Regions from separate parts of the Homo sapiens genome. Here region 1 is linked to region 2. The links are contacts of gene promoters, found by promoter capture Hi-C in blood cells and fetal thymus (Javierre and others, 2016). All regions are on one chromosome and are shown on one strand. Each heading gives the region's core, a stretch centred on a gene start or on the middle of the fragment in contact. The rest is flanking DNA. Distances are from core to core; before and after follow the strand shown.

Region 1 (6,369 bases), core at 501-3,000, 380 kb before region 2:
TAGGGTGGGGGTGGGGGATGAAGGGAAGAAATCACTGTGCTTTGTTCGGCCTGGTGTGCAAGGATGGTTGGTGGTTTTCCTGCATTGTATCTTTTCTTACTGTTTCTTTAATAAATGGGATGAGAGGGCTGCTGGTGTCACTGTGTTTTGTTACCTGTTTCATAGGGAAGGAAGTTTCCTCTGCTTTTCATTGTTTCAGCTTGGCTACAGTCTTACATCATGTCGGCTAAAATGCTTTTGCTCCAAGAGGAAGCAAGCTTTGGTTTTTAGTCTTAGCAAGGGCCCATTCATCTGCCAGTTAGTTATTTCACCAAAGACCCTCTACACTAAAAGTTAAGCCCCCATGGGTGTAGTTACCAGGATGGACATATTGCCCAGGTCTTGAGTCCCACCTGACTAAACTTTCTATTTTAAGTCCCTCTTTGGAAACTGGAATAAAGAGCTAGCTTTCATTAAATACAAAGTAGTAGTTTCGAGATAACCGGCATATGTGAGAATCTTTATTTTGACAAATAAGTGCAGTATAAAAAACTTGACCTGAAAATTAAAAAAAAAAAAAAAAGCAGGTAAAAATAAATATGTTTACAAATTATTGTAGAAACAATACAAAAGAGGATTTGAATTCTCAATGAGGAAAAACCAAAATGCGTCCAATTGTATAAAGGCTCTTCCCTTGCAAGAAACGGGGATAAAGCTGAAGACCCAGTTTGGTTTTGCTGCTGAAAAATGTACAAAATAACTTAGAAAAACCAGTCGAGGTCAAACGTTGTGAGCCCACTACCTGTACCTGCCTGTTTTTGATTTGAGGAAAGTTGACGACCACAGTGCAAGGCAGAGCTGATGGTAGGACAGCCAGGAGAGCCTGTCATCCTACATTAATCTTCAAGTAAATGCTGAAGAAAAACAAGCCCTTAGCGAAGTCTGAACTCTGCACTTGGCTGACCGGATTTCCTCCATTCTAATGCTCAAAATAGTTTAACTTCTTGGCCAGCAGAACGATTGCCTGGATCAGCTGCCTTAGCAAATGCCTGCTGCCTTCCAGCCTTCATGGGTTGGGTCTGATGTCAACCAGCAGTCTTACCAGAAACTCGAGGTCTGTGTGATGTGGCAACTGTTAGCTACACCTGGAAAACCCTTGAGTTCGTGGGAGATGAAGGAAAGCACCAGGGTTTGCCCATCTGTGGCTCAGAGCACACCTTGCGTCTTTGTAGGAAGCACTTGGTACACTAGAGGCTTGCCCTCTTGTCTGCTGTCCACCTTAGTGCTGGTTCTGCACGGGTTAGCTGGCCCCTCTGAGAAAGGACATTTGGAGGGCAAGCAAGCAACCCTTAAGTCAAAGGCTTAGTCAGGATCCCAGGTTTTAAACTCAAAACGCTGAGAACAGCCTGGATTGCAAGTCACTGGAAAATGGCTTCCCCTCATTCCCCAAAAGCAGCAGAGGGAAAACAGCCAAAAACAGCCTCAGGAGGCATGAGAGAGAAAGCAAGAACCTTAGGATGTAGGAACCAGTTTCATCTCCTAGTTTGGTTTCTGGAAAGAAGCAGGCAAATGCAGTGACTGTCACAACTTGGCTGTAAGAATTCCCTGGAGAAGCCACTGAGGAGAATGGATGGTCTCAAAGATAACCATTTTGGATTTGAGAGTTCACTTTGGGAACACTGAAAAGCTTTCCATTGGAGATGATTGTCAAGAACAGTAGCCTGAAAGTCACACATGCTAACCCGGCTGCCAAGGAATCCGTCCAAGCAGCTCCAAGATTGTAGCCAATTTGATCAGAGGCTCCTCATAGTTCCCATATGTGCTGAGAACACGCTTGCCTCCTGCTGAAGCTTCTATAAGAGCCGGGGCTCCGCCCCAATTGCCACCTTGAAAACCTTACCTATGATGATGAGGGTAGAAGAGGTGACTGCAGTGATACCTCAAAAAATGTGGCTTTGAAGAAAGTGAAGTGGGGAGTGTGTCTTAGCCTCAGATCAGAGCTGAATTTGAGAGGAATTCAAGAGTATACAGGTTAAAATACCCAAGACTTCACTTCTTTTCTGAACATGTTGGGGCTTAATCTTTTTATCTCCCCAGCAGAGATCACAGACAAGCTAAGAACCCATCTAGACGTCTGAGCAGTTTCCAGGTGGAACACCCAAGGCCTCTGTGTAGCTTATGGCCTCCTTTAGCACCACCACAATCTCTTTGTTCCTCCTGGCAAACTTTCCTTTTTAATGTGCACTTTTAAAAGCAGTTCAGTGCTAACTCCCTGCTGGTTTGGCTCATCCCTGGAATGTTGATGTGGAGTGGGGTATCTCACATAAAGCACCATTCCTGGACCCTGTTTTCTGATGCCCAAAGATCAGGCTTCTGGGCCTTGTATCTCAGGCGCAATCTTATTGCATTGATGACTACTTAGGGGTGGGGTGGGGGTGACATACACTAACCGGCCCAGCTCGCTCAGTAGAAATTCTCCTGCCACCTCTGGTTGTGTTCAGATGGGCTGGGAGAACCTCCTTCCGCAGGTTGCCGTCACTCAGGTACCTATCACAAGTTGCCACTGAATGGGACTTAACTTGGTTTAGCACAACTTCTGAGTGCCCTCTGGAGCCCAGGAGGAGGCTACTGCCTATGTGCAGATGCAAGCAGACAGGCAGTCTGAAAACACAGAATCCCCTGCAGCCCTGCATCTGGGGGATCAGTGTTGCCTCCTCTAAACAGAGCTGTCAGGCCATACTACATCACCGTTCTTTGCATTTTAGATTTGTCCTTTGGACCATTAAGAGACTAAAACACAGCACTCCCTCCTCCCTCCCACCCTGTCTTTTCTCTTCCATTCCCCTTCCCTCCCTTACCCATTGCACTTTACCCGCTCTGCTTGGGGGCCATGTCACACCTCAGCAAAAGCCAAGCTGTACTGCTCCGGCTTCTTCCCACATCGCCGGGCGATGATGGCCAGATATAGCATGAGGAGGGCCACCCAGTAGCAGCCATACAGTATAGCCCCAGAGACAAGGAAGGCTAGCTCTGTCTCACTGAACAGGTCCTGGCAATAAGCTGTGTAGGCCAGCCCTCCCAGGAGAACTGCCACCCAGATGGACACAGGAATGAGGCCAATGAAGTTCACCACAATGGTTTTTCGGCCAGAGGTGCCCCAGCCAGATTTGTTGATGGTAGCAATGGCAAAGATCTTGGCCGGCAGAAGGCTGGACATATAGAGGAGGGAGTAGAGGGACATGAAGATCATCTCTGCATTGCCCCGAAGGAAGCAGGCGTAGGTGGCCTTGATAATGCCCACCAGCTGCACCGTCAGCAGGAAGAGGAGAATGTTCCAGATGCGGCCCCGGTAGAAAAGCTGTATAACCGTGGCAATGAGGAAGAAGGGGAAGAAACCCGTGACCACTGACTCGTAGGTCATCCAGAGGTGGTGCTTATGGAACCACAGAGAGTTGTAGAGCCACTCCCGGAAGTAAGACTTGCTCCAGCGGGTTTGCTGGTTGAGCCACCGGAGGTACTTAGTGGGGGTCTCTGTGAGGCACTTGGAGCGCGCGGTATACTTAGTTCGGTAGCCAAGGCTCAGGACTCGGTTGGTGAGGTGCCGGTCATCCCCGAAGCTGCACTTGCTGCCTAGGAACTTCTGATGGTACCAGTCCTCCAGGAACTGCTGGAGGAGGCTGTTGCGGTACATGCCCAAGGGCCCACTAATACACTGCACACAGCCAAAGTAGGACTGGCAGGCCCGCTCCACGTTGAAGGCCATCCAGTACCGCACGCTGCTCAGGAAGGAAATCCATGAGTCGTACTTGTTGAGGATCTGCAAGGGAATAGAGATGCTGGGCCTCCTAAGGTTGCACGTCCGGAGGACAGACATCAGAGACCACGAGGCCTCCTTACCATGGCTTCTGTGGCCCGCTGCTTAGATTCCTGGCCATCGGTTCCTTTGGAGCTGGGAAACCTGAGGCTCAGAGGAGCCAACCACACACAATCCCTGTCCCCAGCACCAGCTCTACCTCCCTACTGTGTCATCTTATCTGCAGAGATTTTCCCCACTAAGTGGCTCTAGCAGTCAAAGCCACCTTCGGTCTCAGGAGGCAGCCTGTGGTGGTGGCAGAGAAGGGGGCTTGGGAAGAATGCAAAACACCACCACAACCACCTGTCCTGAGATTTCTGTGGTTGGAAAGTTGTAGGGGACCTGGGATGCTGCTTCAGTATCTCTGGCAGATTGGGGCCCTTATTCTTACCGTATTGACCAGAGCTCTTCAGCCCATCTCCTAAGAGCAAGGGCTGCTCAAGGATCTGACTTTGGAGCTACTTGCTGTACCACCGGCCAAAAAGGAAGTACCTTCTAGGATGTATGGCCTCAAAATACTGTGCCCCTCCTGCAGTATAGACTCTGCTCCATACCTGTTTAAGTGACTTCCCCTCATGTGGAAGAAGAGCAAGAAAGGGGTTGGGCAGTGAGGGGGGCGAGCTCTTTGGTGTCAGTGAAAACTGCCAGCGAGGAACCTCCCCCCAATACTAGGAAGTCAAGACACCCATTTCCCAGGCATATCCAATTGGATTAGGAAAAAGAGTCCAGACCCCTCCCCACAGATATCCCTGGTCTCATCTTACCTGGACATCTCCCCCGACTCCCCCTACTTGGGGATCCTCCTCCAGGACTCGAAGCATCTCGATGGTGCAGGCTGGATCCAGCACAGTGTCAGAGTCGCACACCTGCAGAGGGAGTGCGTCGTCAGCCCATTCTGACCTCAGACCTGCACACCCTGTCCCCCACCCCACTGCCAGGCTGCTCACTGCCTGAGAGACATGACCCCTTCACACATGACTCACTTCCAGCCTCTAGCTAAGAGATCTGCGCTACCAGAAGGTGCCAGAGGTAAAATGAAAGCTAGTAAAAGTGTACAGCTACCAGACTTGACAGCCACTAGGCTGAGAGGGAGAAACCCTGAAGACAGTAGGTGCCAGGCGTGGAGAGAGACATGCTTAGCACTGGACGCAAAAAATTGCTCTGGGGTCCTTCGGCAGAAGGGAAACGTCACTGAAATCAGATGGCAGGCACAGTAGGGTAGCCCAGGACTAACAGGCTGCATATGGCCTTAAGTGACCCCACAGAATTAACCACAGGGGTCCCCGTGTCAGCCTCTGACCCCTTGGACAACCTGCAGCCCACTGGTGGTTACCAGACTACCTACTTGCAGGCACCTCTATGAGACCAGTAATAAGGCTGCTGGCCTCTGCGCCCTCAACAGACTCCCTTGGCCGAGCCTCTCGGACCAGGGCACGGTATGGCTGAGGGCTCCCCCTGGAGGCTGCTCTGAATAGGCATGGAAGCTGCAGCAGCTGCCTCCAGGCAGACCCCAGGGCCAACTCTGCCCAGCTCTTGGGAGGCTTATGGCCTGATTCTAACAGGTGGTCTCATTATGAGTTGAACCCAGGCCACTAGTTGCCCTAGTGGCTGACTCCTTTTCTGGTTTCTAAAAAATTAGTGAAGTGGTACACAAATCCAGTGAGCATTGGCCAGGAGAACTGGTTTACAGACCTGATTTACTCTGTGGTCACTGTTAGGAGAGCAACAAAGAGATCCACAGATAAACCAAAACCCTGTTCTGTAGAAGCCTAAGATCCTTGTATTAAAGTTGCTGAGTAAGATTCCTGCAGGAAAGGAGGCTGCCTCTGACACCACAACCCCACCCAGCTTTCTCTATGTTGGAAGACAGGGTGGCCACAGATAAGCAGTAGAAGGCTAAGGGGGAATCAGAACAGCATCAGCACCAGGCTGAGTCCCTCATATGTGCTTCTTCCCACCTCCCCACCAGGCATATCCTTACATCCTGGTCCATGCCTGGGAAGGGCCCAGGAAGCCTCAGGCCAGACTAGCAGAGCCTCCTCCACTTACAGGCCAAGACTCCCAGCACTGCTGCTGTTCTGCTGGTCTCACTGCTCCTCCCTGCCCCTGCCCTAGCCCATTCTTTATATGCTGCTTTGCTTCCTTCAGTCCAGGGATGTCTTGGATGTCTTTCTAACTGAGCAAGGTTAGGGAAAGAAGAGCTCTCGTGCTGCCTGGGTTTCCCCACTGGCTCGGGCAGAGTTCTGCCTAGGAGGGAGAGATACCTCCGCAGCAGGCGGTTAGAAGACAGGCTGAGATCCAGCAAGCGCTCACTGGCTCTGGCCCAGGGCAACCTTATGCAGTGATCCCAGGGCTGTAAAGAGACAGCTCAGGTGTGTGAGCCTGTTTGCTGATCCACCAGAACCCAGATGGCCAGGAAAGGGAGATGGCAGGGTGGGGTGGGGGTGAGATCCTGTGCTTGAAGGGAATAGATGACAAAGTCACTGTGGCTTGAGCCTGTGCCAGGGCTCAAGGGCTTTTCCCTAAGCATTTGGGTC
Region 2 (6,686 bases), core at 3,530-6,029:
TACTTCAGAGATCCCAAACTGTCTAATAGCCTGGGTTTCTCAGACCGGTGTGTGCTATGAAGAAGGAAAATAAGCAGCAACTCTAAAGGACTGGGTTATTAGCCAGGCATGGTGACTCACACATGTAATCCCAACACTTTGGGAGGCCAAGGCAGGCGGATCACCTGAGGTCAGGAGTTTGAGACCAGCCTGACCAATATGATGAAATCCTGTCTCTACTAAAAATACAAAGGCATGGTGGCATGTGCCTGCAATCCCAGCTGCTCAGGAGGCTGAGACAGGAGAATTGCTTGAACTGAGGAAGCAGAGGTTGCAGTGAGCCGAGATCGCACCTCTGCACTCCAGGCTGGGCGGCAAGAGCAAAACTCCGTCTCAAAACAAAAACTGGTTTATTACAGTTGAGTTTGGTTTTTTTTTTTTTTGTAAAGGTCTTCATTCTAGAAGCTGGAGATAAACCAATGGAATAAATACAAGGTTGAGATCATGGGGTCAGCCACAGCATGGGGCAGAGGAATGACCCTAGCAAACACTCCAAAGTCCCCTGAGTTAAGACCCTACAGCTGCCTGTGCACAAAAAGTGACAGGTTTCAAGTTTCAAAATTCCCATGGAGTAAATTCTCCATGAAGCCAATGTCTAAACCTGGTGCCAATGTTACATCCATCCCTTCACTTCCGTGCACTGTCCAAAGAGAGTCAGGCCACATCCCAAGTCCTAGCGGCCTTTTAAAATCACAAGCCAGTTCCTCAGATTGAACGTGTGATTTTACCAGAAGGGCACTTCCATCCTGGGGCGACTCCACATTGGACTGATACAAGGAGACCCCACAGTCCAAAAAAGCCAAAACAAATATTAAATGTCAGGAAATCTGTTGTGTGGGGGTGGGGGTCTGTGAACATAAAGGGAACTGAAACCAACCACACCAGAGGCCTGCGGATTCTGTGTGAAGGCTGCCTCTTCCCACTAAATCACCAGTCCCAGGGTCCCCCGCCACCTCCCCCGGGTCTGACCCATCTCCATCATCACCACCCCCTCTCGGAGGTCCCACCCTGTCAACACCTCCATTCTCAGCTTACTTCACATTGGACACTAATTCCCCAAACACCTTTTTTCTTTGTTTTTGTTTTTTCAGGTTATTGAGGTGAAAAACAAGGAGAAAAAGGAAGAGAAAAGACCAACTGCGGATGCTTCAGATTACAGAATTGCTTTATGCCTCAGTTTCCTCACTTGCAAAGTAGGAAGAATAACAGTGCCCACCCTCCTAACGTTCTAGTGAAGACTAAATGAGGTAAAATATGTGAAGCACTTGCCCCAGAGTCTGAGGCAAAAGTGAATACGTGTCACTATTAATTATTAACATATTAGTGTTAATATGTAATAATATTATTGGTCAAACACAGGAGCTTAGAAGGGAGAAATAAAAACCAGACCAACCCACCCTTGGTGCTACCAAATATCTTGGTGCAGGAAAACAAAGTCACCAGCCTTAGCACTGGGACACCCCAGACGCATGCTCAGATACAAGCTTGTTTCTAGCCCCTGCCTTGCTCTCCAAGACTGGATCAAGTTTGCCTTCCCCGAGAAGCCACTCCTCAATGCCCACTGACATCAAAATATCCAATCCCCAGCACTCTGGGAGGCCAAGGCGGGTGAATCACTTGAGCCCAGGAGTTAGAGATAACTTCTGATCCAATAGAAAGCTCTAGAGCACACAGAGCAAATATACTTCATCAGTCGAGCTGTAGTTTCTCTGTAAAAAACTTCGAATGACTTCCAAAGTTCAAAAAAAAAATGTAAAGACAACAGCGTGATTGCTAAAGATTCATGTGGTCAAAGACTGGAAGAATGACACAGTGGAGGTGTTCCCTCAGGGGAATTGTGGGTGATTTCTCTTAAAAAAAAAATGCCTCTTATTGTGATACCCAATCAAGTAAAATCATGAGAGAGGAGAAAGTGGTTTGATATAAAGGAAGCACTTGGGATTCAGTGAAACCAGAAGAGAAACTAGCCCCTTCCCTTGCTCCCTGGACAACAGTCAAGTGGAACAAAGCAAACTCTAGATTGTCACAACGATAAGGCCTAGAAGTACATTGGGTGTATGCATTTTCATCCTGAGTCAGAACTACCATGCTTTTTTTAAAAAAAGATCATTATTCCTGGCCAGGCGTGCTGGCTCATGCCTGTAATCCCAGCACTTTGGGAGATTGAGGCAGGTGGGTCACCTGAGGTCAGGAGATCCAGACCAGCCTGGCCAACATGGTGAAACCCCTTCTCTGCTAAAACTACAAAAAATTAGCTGGGCATGGTGGTGGCACCTGTAATCCCAGCTACTCAGGAGGCTGAGGCAGGAGAATCACTTGAACCTGGGAGCCAGAGGTGGCAGTGAGCCGAGATCACGCCATTACACTCCAGCCTGGGCAACAAGAGTAAAACTCCATCTCAAAAAAAAAAAAAAAAAAAAAAATCATTATTCCTTGGGGGAAACAGTACCTGTATCAAGATGTTTTGGTCCAGGCACAGTCTCTCAGGCCTGCAATCCCAGCACTTTGAGAGGCTGAGACAGAAGGATCCTTTGAGCCCAAGAGTTCAACACCAGCATGGGCAACATGGAGAGACTCCTGTCTCTAAAAAAAAATTTATTTTTTATTTATTTTTTGAGACGGAGTCTTGCTCTGTCACCCAGGTTGGAGTGCGGTGGCACTATCTCAGCTCACTGCAACCTCTGCCTCCTGGGTTTAAGCAATTCTCCTGCCTCAGCCTCCTGAGTAGCTAGGATTACAGGCACACGCCACCATGCCCGGCTAATTTTTATATTTTTATTTAGTAGAGATGGGGTTTCACCATGTTGGCCAGGCTGGTCTCGAACTCCTGACCTTGTGATCCGCCCACCTCGGCCTCCCAAAGTGCTGGGATTACAGGCGTTAGCCACTGCGCCCAGCCTAAAAAAAAGTTAAAATTATCCAGGTGTGGTGGCACATGCCCATGATAACCAGCTACTAGGGAGGCTGAGATGGGAAGGATCACTTGAGCCCAGAGGATGGAGGCTGCAGTAAGCTATGATTGTGCCACTGCACTCCAGCTTGGGCAACAGAGCAAGACCCTGTCTTTAAAAAAAAAAAAAAAAAAAAAAAAAAAAGCTTTTATATCTGTAAACAAAAGCCACAGCCCAGTAACCAAGAGAGGGCTGCTCTTCAGTCATCCCAGAGATGGTGCTTAATGGGGCCTGGGAGTCAGATCCCAGTTCAGATATCTGCTCTGCTGACCCTGAGCAAGTGGACGTCACTCTCTTAGCCTCGGTTTGCTCAACTGTAAAACGGGAATACTCCTGCCAGGCCTTCCCACCCACCAGGTTTTTGCAGTCTGAAATGAGAGACTGTCTCTACAGTGCTGAGGGCAATAAGAGAAATACGAAGGCTTCTAGTAAGTGCCCTCAACCTCCTCTTCTTTATAACATAGTCAACAACCAGGCAGGGTTACCCCCTCCACCACAGTGTTCAGTCGTAAACGTTTGGATCCCCAAATCTGCGTAAATTCCAAGGGGTGTCGTTTGAGCCAAGGAGGGAGCTTGCCCATTGCAACCCAGGGGTGTGGGAGTGCAATTTCTCGGCCCCTTTCCAACCCCTCCCTACTCCGCCCAGGGACACCGGCAGCGCGCCCTCACCTCTGCCCAGGACGCGGCCTCTCTCCAGGTGGCGCCGGGGCACCGTGAACGTGTAGCTCTCGGCGTCAAAGCCAGGGTGGCAGGGCTCCGGCTCCTGGCAGAGCCAAGAGGAGACCTGGGGTGGGGGAAAGGTAGATGGAACCGGGTGACTCGGAGGGTTCCCTCCTGCTCACCGAAACCAACAGCGCCGCCCCTCCCTCGCTCCCGGCGTCGGGATTGGGGGAGGACCCCAGCCCGCAGCCCCGGGACGGGCGGGCAGCGACGTCACCCTCCCCCACCCCGAAACCTACGGCCGCCGAGCCCCCAGGAACTCCCGGGAGGGGGCCGCCGAGTCACCCCCTCAAGACCTAGCCCACCGTTCCCTTTCAGTCTCCTTTCTCATTTTATTGGAGATGTCTTTATTCTCCAGTACCCCACTTTCCTTAGACCGGGAATGCACCACTCCTCAGAGCGAGGGGCGCTCCCACCTCCTCCGACCTCACTTTCTTATCCCCGGGACCCTCACTCCTATTTACGACCTTTCTTGGCATGGCAGGTGCCTTTATTTCTACGGATGCCCCTCTCCTTCCCTCGAAGATCGTCCCCACGACTCCTGGCTCCCCCTCGACTTGCACCAGGGCACCCCTTCTCCACACCCCACCCCCTACACCCCGCTTCACGCCCCCACCGCCCGCGCGAGCCCACCCCGCGGACTCCGCGGCCAGACGCCCCCGCCTCGGTCTGCGCTGGAGGGGGCAGGAAAGCCGCGCTCGCCCCTCACCACCCACCCCCCACTCCCATCACTGGGGGGTCCGGAGCGCGCGAGGCTTCCAGGCCGCTCCGCTCCTCAGGACCCGAACTTTCTTGGAAGAAGGGAAGCGGTGACGACGGGAGAGGAAGGGGCGCAGGGCTGGGGCGCGGAGCTTGCGGCCCGAATGCGTCCCTCGCAAGTCAGGGGATCCGGGGTACCTGCAGCAGCAGCAGCAGCGCCGAGAGGCTGCGGCTCCAAGGGCCCATGGCTGGCCGGGGACGCCGAGCGAGGGCAGGCGCCGGGTGCGGTCGGGTCGGGCCGGGCTGGAGCGGGCTGGAGTCTGAACTGACTTCCGCAAGCTCACAGGTGCTTTGCAGTTCCGACGCCACTGAGAGGGGGTGCGTGGCTGCAGCCAGGTGAGCCCCGGAGGCACCGCCCCCCGTACCGCTGATTGGCTGAGGGTTCACCTGCCGGCCACAGCCAATCAGCAGCGCGGACCCCTCCCCAGGGCGGAGCTGACGGCCCGCCCACCCGGCCTCGCATAGACGCGGTGACCCTCTAGCCTGGAGTTGCTAGGGTCTAGGTGGGTTATGGGACCTGCACGGTTCTGATTCCACTGGGTTCGAATCCCAGCCCCGCCGGTGGCTCACTAAGACCTGGGATCAGAAAGGGCTTTTACACTTGGCTGAGTTCTTTTGTTTTTTGGGATTTTTTGTTTGTTCGTTTTGGAGATGGGGTCTCACTCTTTCACCCAAGCTGGAGTGCAGTGGTGCGATCACAGCTCACTGCAGCCTCGAACTCCTGGGCTCAAGCGGTCCTCTGGCCCCAGCCTCTCTAGTAGCTGGGAGTACAGGTGCACACCACCACGCCAGGCTAATTTTTTTTTCTTTTGCCTTTTTGTAGAGAGACAAGTCGGGGCGGACAGGGGCAGTGGGGGCGCTGTGTCTCCCTGTATTGCCCAGCCTGGTCTCGAACTCCTGGGCTGAAGCGATCCTCCTGCCTTGGCCTCCCAAAGTGCTAGGATTTCAGGTGTGAGCCATGAGCCACTGAGCTAGCAGCCTAATTTTTTGTTTGTTTGTTTTGTTTGTATTTTTTGAGACGGAGTCTCGCTCTGTCTTGCCCAGGCTGGAGTGCAGTGGCACGATCTCGGCTCACTGCAACCTCCGCCTGCCGGGTTCAAGAGACTCTCCTGTCTCAGCCTATTGAGTAGCTGGGACTACAGGCGTGTGCCACCACACCGGCTAATTTTGTATTTTTAGTACAGACGGGGTTTCACCATGTTGGCCAGGCTGGTCTGGAACTCCTGACCTCAGGTGATCCACCCTCTTCAGCCTCCTGAAGTGTTGGATTACAGGCGTGAGCCACTGCACTCTGCCTCGAGCGGCCTAATTTTTTAAAAAATTTTTCTAGAGAGGGGATCTCACTATGTTGCCGAGGCTGATCTCAAATTTCTGAACTCAGGCGATCCTCCTGCCTCAGCCCCTTTACTGAGTTCTCATTTTTTAATCTAGTCTTTTTTAACTGTAGAGCTTCATGGGTTAGTGAGTCAGCAAATTGATTCCCTAGGTCAGGACCACCTCCCAAAGCCTCAGTTTCTCCACCCTCCTAATGGGAATAATGATCAGAAATGTCTCCCTATGCTGTTGTGGGACTCCCATACAATTAAAATGACAAATGTTTCTTGAGCCATAAATGCTCTGTACAGAAGTGAGGGGTAAAAATAGTAACAATAGGGCCAGGCATGGTGGCTCACGCCTGTAATCCCAGCACTTTGGGAGGCCGAGGCGGGCAGATCACGAGGTCAGGAGATTGAGACCATCCTGGCTAACGCAGTGAAACCCCGTCTCTACTAAAAATACAAAAAATTAGCCAGGCGTGGTGGTGGGCGCCTGTAGTCCCAGCTACTCGGGAGGCTGAGGCAGGAGAATGGCATGAACCTGGGAGGTGGAGCTTGCAGTGAGCCGAGATCGCGCCACTGTACTCCAGCCTGGGCGACAGAGCAAGACTCTGTCTCAAAAAAAAAAAAAAAAAAAAAATAGTAACAATAGGTGCTGGACATTGAAGATTACTGTGCCAGTCTCTGTGCTAAGCATTTGACACTGACCAGCTCTTTTTTTTTTGAGACGGAGTCCTGCTCTGTCGCCCAGGCTGGAGTGCAATGGTGTGTTCTTGGCTCACTGCAACCTTCGCCTCTTGGGTTCAAGCGGTTCTCCTCTATCAGCCTCCTGAGTAGCTGGGATTACAGGCATGCGCCACCACGACTGGCTAATTTTTGTATTTTTAGTAGAGACAGGGTT

What was found. Contacts are between HindIII fragments. The CHiCAGO score rates a contact against its expected background, and 5 or more counts as called.
Region 1: a contact is called between a fragment that was not itself captured here and the fragment with the promoter of CDH1 in region 2, in 1 of 17 cell types (megakaryocytes). The highest score is 6.0, in megakaryocytes.

Annotation. Positions count from the first base shown.
Region 1 is chr16:69,111,770-69,118,138 of GRCh38, reverse strand. HAS3 (hyaluronan synthase 3) reads right to left here. Exons shown (of 4, transcript NM_001199280.2): 3 at 4,597-4,698; 4 at 479-3,796. The coding sequence ends at 2,873. DERPC (DERPC proline and glycine rich nuclear protein) reads left to right here. Exons shown (of 3, transcript NM_001002847.4): 3 at 1-129. CHTF8 (chromosome transmission fidelity factor 8) reads left to right here. Exons shown (of 4, transcript NM_001039690.5): 4 at 1-129. Among named protein-coding and RNA genes, the nearest start is that of HAS3, 9.3 kb to the right of the region's middle. The HindIII fragment of the contact is 163 bases long and covers 1,669-1,831 here.
Region 2 is chr16:68,735,385-68,742,070 of GRCh38, reverse strand. CDH1 (cadherin 1) reads right to left here and starts at 4,779. Exons shown (of 16, transcript NM_004360.5): 1 at 4,608-4,779; 2 at 3,660-3,774. The coding sequence starts at 4,655. RefSeq lists a silencer at 4,664-4,733, a cis regulatory region at 5,686 and an enhancer at 5,614-5,758. The HindIII fragment of the contact is 3,737 bases long and covers 3,138-6,686 here.